Regions from separate parts of the Homo sapiens genome. Here region 2 is linked to region 1. The links are contacts of gene promoters, found by promoter capture Hi-C in human tissues and cell types (Jung and others, 2019). All regions are on one chromosome and are shown on one strand. Each heading gives the region's core, a stretch centred on a gene start or on the middle of the fragment in contact. The rest is flanking DNA. Distances are from core to core; before and after follow the strand shown. Region 1 holds the start of SLAMF8 (SLAM family member 8). Region 2 overlaps CFAP45 (cilia and flagella associated protein 45).

The links. Contacts are between HindIII fragments. The study calls those that stand out against the background at their distance.
Region 2: a fragment that was not itself captured here is called in contact with the fragment with the promoter of SLAMF8 in region 1 in 18 of the 25 tissues and cell types used here (H1 embryonic stem cells, IMR-90 fibroblasts, adrenal gland and 15 more).

Annotation. Positions count from the first base shown.
Region 1 is chr1:159,824,734-159,828,932 of GRCh38, reverse strand. It overlaps SLAMF8 (SLAM family member 8), which reads right to left and starts at 2,060. Exons shown (of 5, transcript NM_020125.3): 1 at 1,995-2,060. The coding sequence starts at 2,034. The HindIII fragment of the contact is 29,109 bases long and covers 1-4,199 here.
Region 2 is chr1:159,890,779-159,894,977 of GRCh38, reverse strand. CFAP45 (cilia and flagella associated protein 45) reads left to right here. Exons shown (of 12, transcript NM_012337.3): 2 at 1,673-1,798. It overlaps LOC124904434 (a long non-coding RNA gene), which reads right to left. Exons shown (of 3, transcript XR_007066678.1): 2 at 2,477-2,631; 3 at 1,752-1,833. Among named protein-coding and RNA genes, the nearest start is that of MIR4259, 7.2 kb to the left of the region's middle. The HindIII fragment of the contact is 4,491 bases long and covers 603-4,199 here.

The DNA of each region.
Region 1 (4,199 bases), core at 811-3,310:
CAGGGGGTGAGAAAGCAAGATGCTGTTTTGGGGGACTATATTTGAGTCAGACGTGTATGGGAGACGCTTCTCCTTGAAGTGCCCCCCTGACTCCTTTGCTGACTAATTTCTGCCCACTCTTGTAGCATCACTGCCTCCTCCGACCTCCCCTATCCCTCATAGGTAATGTAACCAAGAGAGGTTACATATTCTCTCTTGTGTTCTCACAGTGGCCTGGGGCCACCATGCTGACTACCCTTATCCCTCTATTCTTATTGCCTGTTTATGAGTCAGCATCTCCCACTAGACCGTGAGCTCTTTCTCCCCATCGTTTGCTTCCAGTGCCCACCACTGTTTAAGAACAGACTGTGGGAGAAGCCTAGTAAATGGTATTGAATAAATGACCTACCCTGCTGAGGACTGACCCTATGCCTGTCGCTGGCACAGGGTGTAGGGAAGAATAAGAGGTGATGAAGTTTTGGTCAATGAGACATGATCTGGATGGTTGCTCAGTCGGCCATGATAATTCCGGTCCCCCTCTGCCTCACTGTCCTCCAGGCCCAACAACCTCCTCTCACACTGGAGATGACTTCAGTGTTAATGCAGAGCAGGAATGTAACACACAAAGAGAATTGCACTGGATGTCAGCCAAGACCTAGCTGCTCCTACCTGCTCCTCCTGGTGCTGCCACAGATCAGCTGTGTGCCCTTCCACACATCACCCTGCCCCAGGCTTCAGTACCACTGAAAAATAAGGGGTCTGTACCAGGTCAGTCACACAGATCTTTGATCATTAAGGGCCATTTGAAAAATTATTTTTGGGCTGGGTGTGGTGGCTCATGCCTGTAATTCCAGCACTTTGGGAGGCTGAGGAGGGCGGATCACTTGAGGTCAGGAGTTTGAGACCAGCCTGGTCAACATGATGAAACCCTGTCTCTACTAAAAATACAAACATTAGCCGGGTTTAGTGGCAGTGACCTGTAATCCCAGCTACTCAGGAGGCTGAGACAGGAGAATCGCTTGAACCCAGGAGGCAGAGGTTACAGTGAGCTGAGATGCACCATTGCATTCCAGCCTGGGTGACAGAGCAAGACTCCGTCTCAAAGAAAAAAAAAAAAGGCAAATTATTTTTGTCTCACCAAACAGACCAAGGCCTTTTTTGAGGTTAAGGTGTGATTTCCTGCACATGTTTAGAAATATTGAAGAAATCTGCAGGCTTTGGAGCTCTCAGGGCCAGGAACTCAGGCAAGGAGATGAAACAAAGCAACCCAAAGTCCCTATGAGCCTCTGATGTAAACAATATCATCTTAATCTTTGCTGCACCCCATAAACCCTCATCCATGGCCCGGCAGTGTTGACCCATGTCATGTTGGCTGCTTGTTGACCAAGGAAGGGAACTCAGGCATCAGATGGATAGAGGGATCGCCCGGTGTGGAGGAGACCCCGTGTATCAGCCATCCCAACATCACACCACCGTCGGCCACCCCTAAGTCCACGTGGGCCACATTTAGCCTCTCTCATCCCTACTTAGTACTTGCCTCCCCTTATAAAGGCCTGTAGGGAGGGACCTCAGCTCCCCCACAGGCTGTTGAAAACACACTCTGCTGATTGTGGGGAACCCTGCTCTGCCCTGCCCTCTGCTACTCTCCTCAAACTCTGCAGAGTTTCTGCATGCTAACACTGCCGGGTCCTCACCATTCTCACAGCCGACTTTCTCTCCAAACCAGCAGTATCACCCACTGGCTCCGTTTTTACTGCTCTGGGCCACAAAACAGCTCATGTCTCACAGATAAGAATACCCCTCAAGCTGCCACCTCCTCCCTCCCAGGACCCTGCATCTCTTTGTATCTGCCTAGCTTAAAATGTTGCCCAAGAGCTTGTTCTAGTCTTTCCTACCCACCCTCAGCTTCTGGGTTCTCACCCAGGTCGAGGGATCCCTGCCCAGACGTCTGGCATAGGCAGCTGGGGAGGGGCCTTCAGCTCTCCGAGGACAGGCTATCTGCCTGCCCCACTTACCTTCCCAGAGAAGCAGACTCCACAGGGGCCTCATGACCATCTTTCTCTGGAGAGGCAGGCAAACTCCCTCGACAGCCAAAATCCAGAACCTCCCAGGCCGAGTGGATGCACGGGAGGAGCTGTGGTCCTTCTGGAAAGTCCCATGTTCAGAAGGAGGAATCTTGACTCAGAACAGGATGTCCCAAAAGTGAAAACATCCAGAATAAAGTGGAAGTTGTCCCTGGGCCTCTCTGGGCTTACAGGAGCAGATTCTTGTAAGTCAGCCTCTTTCACATGCACATGGTTGGCTAACACGTGGCGACAACAGCCCCCACACAAGCCACATCCTCCTTGCTGGATCTCGCTGGCCTTCCTGCATCTCAGCCTGCCTCACTACTATCTGTCATCCTCATTCTAGCTTAAAATGCTTCTGTGGCCTCCCGTGGACCTGAGGATGAGGACTAACTCTGCTCTGCATGCAGGCCCTCCTGAGTCAGGCCTTCTTCTCCAGGCTGGTCGCCCACAGTCATTCTGCCCTCCAGCCATCCCAAGCCAGAAGGCCTCCTTCTCAGAACTACTGATTTCACACTTCCCTGTGTTGTACTTTCCCCACCACCCCGACTAGGCATGCTGCTCCCTCTATCCTTGCAAACAGAACATGGCTGTGCAGTCGGCGAGGACATCCTTCCAGGCTTCCTGACCACAGGCAGGTGAGAGGCCCTCTCCTTGTGTCCTGTGCATGCCCACACCTCCCTCTTTACTCTTGCTGTGTTGTTGATGACAGTTTTCTGGTTTTCACAGACTGTTTAGCCAGTCTTTTGTTCCCTTCTGTGTTGCCCTCAGTGCTTGGCACATTACAGATGTTTCATGAGTATTTGTTAAGTGAGTGAGTACATTCTAGACATGGCTACACATCTGGCTTTATGTAAGCCTTGCAACTCTCCTCTGAGAGGATCATCTTGTTACCTGGTTAGAAATGGGAAAATGTGAAAACCAGAGTGAGGTTAGGCCCCTTGCAGAGCTCACAGAGAGGCAGAGCTGGAACTTGAACCTCAGCCTTTGAAGTGTGGTCTATTTTGCCACAGTTATCCCCTCCTCATCCTGTTTCTCTTCTCACTTCAAGTTTCTTGGTTTCTTGCCAGTGAAGGTTTTTAGAGGACGTGTTGCCCCTGAGGAAAATTCCTGCTAGTCTGGAGTGTGGCTCATCGTATCTGGTCCTGCACAGCCTCTCGCCTGTCAATCAAACTGGACACTGAGCTTTGGACTCAGCCAGGAACTAGGCATATAGGATGGGGTGGGGGTGGGTGGTGAGCAGGAGGATTTTGGGATAAGGTTTTTGCCCTCCAGGTACTCACAACCAAAATGTAGAGATAGGTACACCAAGGAAAGTGAAGGGTTATCTGCAGACAGACACCACTTTGTGCAAACAGGTAGTCAGTCCTCAGAAGTGGGTGGGAAAGAGGGCTTCGCGGATCTGGGCAGGGGACGCTTCTTGAGAAGGTGGAATTTGAGCTGTGCCTTGAAGATGGGCATGGTTTAGATAATATGAGGAAAGGAGAGAGCCAGAGGTTGGGGGTGGGCTCTGGGCAGGAGGGGAGAGCAGAGCGTGCAGGGATGTGGCTGTGGGAAAATACCAAGTAGGCTCCACAGAGGACAAGGGACAGCAGACAGGAATCCTTTAGGGCTGGGTGGGAAGAATGGAAAAGGAGGTTGGGGGCAGATTGTGGAGGCCTTGAAAACTGGGTTAAGTTCTTCTGGAGACTAGTGGCTCTCAACTGTGTTCAGCACTTGGATTCTCAGAGATGCCATCAGGGTGAGCTAGGGCCCAGGAATCTGTGGTTGTAACAAGCACCCCACTCAGCGTGAGTCTGTGGCTGGTGGACTGGGGGACCGCTCCGGAAGCACTGCTTGAAGAGAGGGGCTGTTGCATGTTTTAAGTAGGAGTGGGAGGACAGCAGGCAGGGCAGGTTGGAGAGAACAAAGGGGCCAGGGAACCTGAACAACAGCTGTTGTCTGTTGTGATGGTCCTGTGAGAAGGAGAAGGGACTGCATATGAAGGAAATGTCTAGAGTACTGAGGAAAGGGCAGAACTGGGAAGCTGCCTGTCATGGGGGTGGAGAGGGCAAGGGAGGGAACTCATTTACGACTCCATTGCCAATTCCGTCATTCATTCCTCAGGCATTTATTGAGCATCTACTTAGGTGCCAGGACCTAGGGACACAGAGA
Region 2 (4,199 bases), core at 1,599-4,098, 65 kb before region 1:
AGAACTGGTCTGGCAAGGACCCTGATGCACTGTTGCACCCCCAAAACTGCCAATTCCTTACATAGGGTGCCGCTGCTGGTATCGTTATCAGTGTTGCCCAGACGCTGGGTCTGGCTGCCAGTTCTGTTTGGGTCAGAAAGGTTTTCCTTGTTCTGCCTTTTGGTCCACTAGTTCCCTAGTCATTGTCAGTCCAGGGCCATCTCATTGGCTAAGCCTAGGTCCCTTGGCCAGGCTGAGGTGAATATTTGATGTTTTCAGCTTCTGTAGTTGGAGAAGAGCACTATCTCCCACAACTCATTAGATGGGGAATTTGCCAAAATAGGAAGTTAGTAGGGGGTTAAAAAATGACTAAGGCACACTAAAAGGGTCTTGGGAGAGAAACAGCCAAATAGTGGGTATTATGAACTGGTTTGCTTGATTATAGCTAGTAATCATTTATCATTCACCCACTGCCTCAAGTTTATTGGGCATCAACCACATGCCAAGCAGTGGGTGAGGCACTTTTCCATCCTTTATATCCTGTGGTCCCACCATAACCTTGTAAGATTGTGGAGACACGAAGGAGGTCAAACAGTAGCGTCATTTGTGAGAAAGACTTGAAGCACAAGCTGAAAAGATTGGAGGCAAAGGGGACACTGTGCGTGTCTCAGGGGGCAAGCCCAAGTTGCCCCACAAGAGATTGTCCTCTTGGGAAACTGGTACTAGGCAGATAATGAGAAACTGTTGCTTCTCTCCTCCTGCCATTCCTGCTTCCTTTATCCTTACTTCCATACTATGTGGCCGACTTGGCCTTCAGCTTCAGGGACTACAGAAATGCTCTTAAAAAAACCCCACAAAAAACAAAACAGTTTTGTTTTTAATTGACACATAATGATTGTACACATTTATGGGGTATAGTGTGATGTTTTGATACATGTATATACATTGTGTAATGATTGAATCAGGGTAGTTAGCATATCCATTACCTCAAACACTTGTCATTTCTTTGCAGTGAGATCACTCAAAATTCTCTCTTCTAGCTAGTTTGAAATATACAATGTAAATTAATATACATTGTATACATGTATATTTATATATATTATTGTATACATGTATATTAATATACATTTATATATAGTAATATACATTATTGTTAACTCTAGTCATTCTATTGCGCTATCAAATACTAGACCTTGCCATCTCATTTAATCTTATAACATTTATATTTCTCAAAATCCTCTCCTAGATATTGTGTATCTCTTTTGAGATATACAGTACATTATTATTAACTATAGTGGCCTTTCTGTGCAATAGAGCACCAGAACTTATTCCTCCTATCTAACTGTAACTGCGCACTCACTGACCAACCTCTCCCCATGCCCCTCCCCTTCCTCTCTTCAGCCTCTGGTAACCACCATTCTACTCTGTACTTCTATGAGATCAACTGTTTTACACAAATGCTGCTTTATGCAGAGCTCTTTTTTTTGCAGAGACCCTTCCCTGCTCTGTGGGGATGCCCTCCATCTGTTGCTCCTTGTCCCCTATGGTTCAGAGTTTACACAGCCGCTTTCCCTAACTGTTTCTTTTTCACATGCCCACCCACTCCCCCAGCATGGGCTGGTGAATTGTTGACTTCCCAGGGTCTGGATGCCACTCAGTACTGATGACCCAAACTTTCTGCCTCTTCCTGCAGCCACTAAGCACAGCTGGCATCCTGAGCTCCTCTTCTGCCGCTTCCAACAGGTCAAGGAATAAGGCTCGCTATCGGACCAAAGCCGTGAGCTCTGAGGTGGATGAGAGCCTCTTTGGAGATATCAAGGTAATCCTCAACAAGTCCTTTCAAGTTGATGCCACCTGCAGGCAGAGGCCCAAAAATGTAGCTCAGGGCAAAGCTTCTGCTGAGTAACCTTGCTCTCGTAGGTAACTCTCAGACTGAAGACAAAGGGGAATTCTGAGACCTGAGCTGCAGAGCTTTGGGATCTAGTGGGGCCTATGTAAACAGGGACACCTAGCTTCTTCCACCCTAGAATCTCTCATGTCTTCACAGTGTTTAAAATCTGTTATAATGTCAAAAGGGAGGCTCAGCTGCAGAGAGTGCAATAGTTGCTCAGTTGAGCTCCATGATGGAAACATTGCAGGGCTGATGGGCTAAGCTTGCAGACAATAGCAACATCTTCCCCGCTCCATCCAAGGATAATAGCATCAGAGTACAACACAAAACCATCCTCCTTTCCCAGTTGCTCAACTAAAACAATTACTTAGCTTTGGGAAACGAGCAGGTCTTTATTTGCAAGTGTTATCTAGACCAAGAGGTGGACAACTCCTTTAGTCTAGATAAAGAGAGCTAGATAGTAGAGCTTTGACTGATTTTGGTACATATGGAGTTTAGTAGGTAAGAAGGAAGAGAGGGAAGGAGAAAAAGAGAATATGACATGGAGAGAAGGGCAGTGAGAGATTAAGAGAAGGGGAAAAGAGAAAGAGAGACACTAGTAGTGACCTGAATGCCTCTGCCAGTGGGGAAGGTGGGGAGAGGAGTGTTGATGTCTGTCCCTGCTCTTCAACATCTTCATTGTGAATTGAAGAGGACTCTCCAGAGGGATTGAGATAGGCTTCTTAATCCATTTAGAAGACTCTCACTCTGCAGCAGTTTTCCTGTTGGTAAGGGAAAGGATCAACAGATGCATTTATTTTTTATTATTTTTTTAAAGATAGGGTTTCACTCCTGTCACCCAGGCTGGAGCTGGAGTGCAATGGTACAGTCTCGGCTCACTGCCACCTCCACTTCCCAGGCTCAAGTGATTCTCCTGCCTCAGCCTCCCAAGTAGCTGGGACTACAGGTGCACACCACTGCACCTGGCTAATTTTTGTATTTTTTGTAAAGACAGGGTTTCATCATGTTCCCCATGCTGGTCTTGAACTCCTAAGCTCAAGCAATCTGCCCACCTCGACCTCCCAAAGTGCTGGGATTACAGGCGTAAGTCTCCCCACCTGGCCAAAATGCAATTTCACTTACAGACATTTGTATTGTTGTTGTTGTTTTGGGTACATGTGGAGTTTTCTAGTCAAAGCAAAGAGAGATTTGGAATTGGCTGAGTTCTCCAGGAGTAGTCATGCTGGCTGGCAAAAGGGGGCTATCAGAAAAATGCTTGTCTCTTGTCCAGTTTCTTTGGCCTCATTGATGGGTAAGAGTTCAGGAAGTCTCTCAATGGGCAGTAGAGGGCAGAAGTGGCCTGTGGCACGACTGAGTTGTGCCCACGTGAAAGCAGAGATGGGCACCAGGTGGCAGCAGCACACAGGGGACTGTGGGTGCAAAGTGAGGTAGGACAAGTGGGGCCATCCCCCTGCCTCTGGTCAGGAGCACAGTGGCTGCATTAATGACACATCCTTTCCTGTGTTTAGACATTTTCTGAAACAGGTGATTTCATTTAATTGTTATCTAACTCCTTCAGGGTCGGAGAATTTTGAAAAAAAGAAAAAATCACACAGTTAGTCTGTGTTCTTGCTGAATTCTAACTCACTGACCTCCTCACCACCAACTCAATGAGCTGGCAGAGAGCTACCCTTAGATCTTAAGGGTAGGCCTCTGCAGGTCATTTAGCGATTTCTAACTCCCTGAATATGGCTTTTTGTGGGGGTTAAAGTAATTTAATCGTAAGAAAGAATTTAAAATTACCAATATCAAAGATTGTAAGAGTCTGTAACAAATTATATTGCTTCAAACCCACTGTGTGGTCCTAGAGAGATAATTATTTCTTCTTTCATAAAGGAAAATCTTTCATGGAGAGAGGAAAACCTAGAGAACAGAAATTTACTTTAATTCCTGATGATTTTAGACTAAGTATAGACACACACTAGTGACCCCCACTCCTTGTTATCCCTACCATTCTGCGAGGAATATCTGTATAAGAACAAGAGACTTGTTTTCAGAAAAGCTGGTCAGGGCTGGGCATGGTGGCTCACGCCTGTAATCCCAGCACTTTGGGAGGCCCAGGCGGGCGGATCATCTGAGGTCAGGAGATTGAGACCAGCCTGGCCAACATGGAGAAACCCCGACTCTACTAAAAATACAAAAATTAGCCAGGCATGGTGGTGGTCGCCTGTAATCCCAGCTACTCAGGAGGCTGAGGGAGGAGAATTGCTTGAACCCGGGAGGTGGCGGTTGTAGTGAGCCAAGATCGTGCCACTGCACTCCAGCCTGGGTGACAGAGCAAGACTCTGTC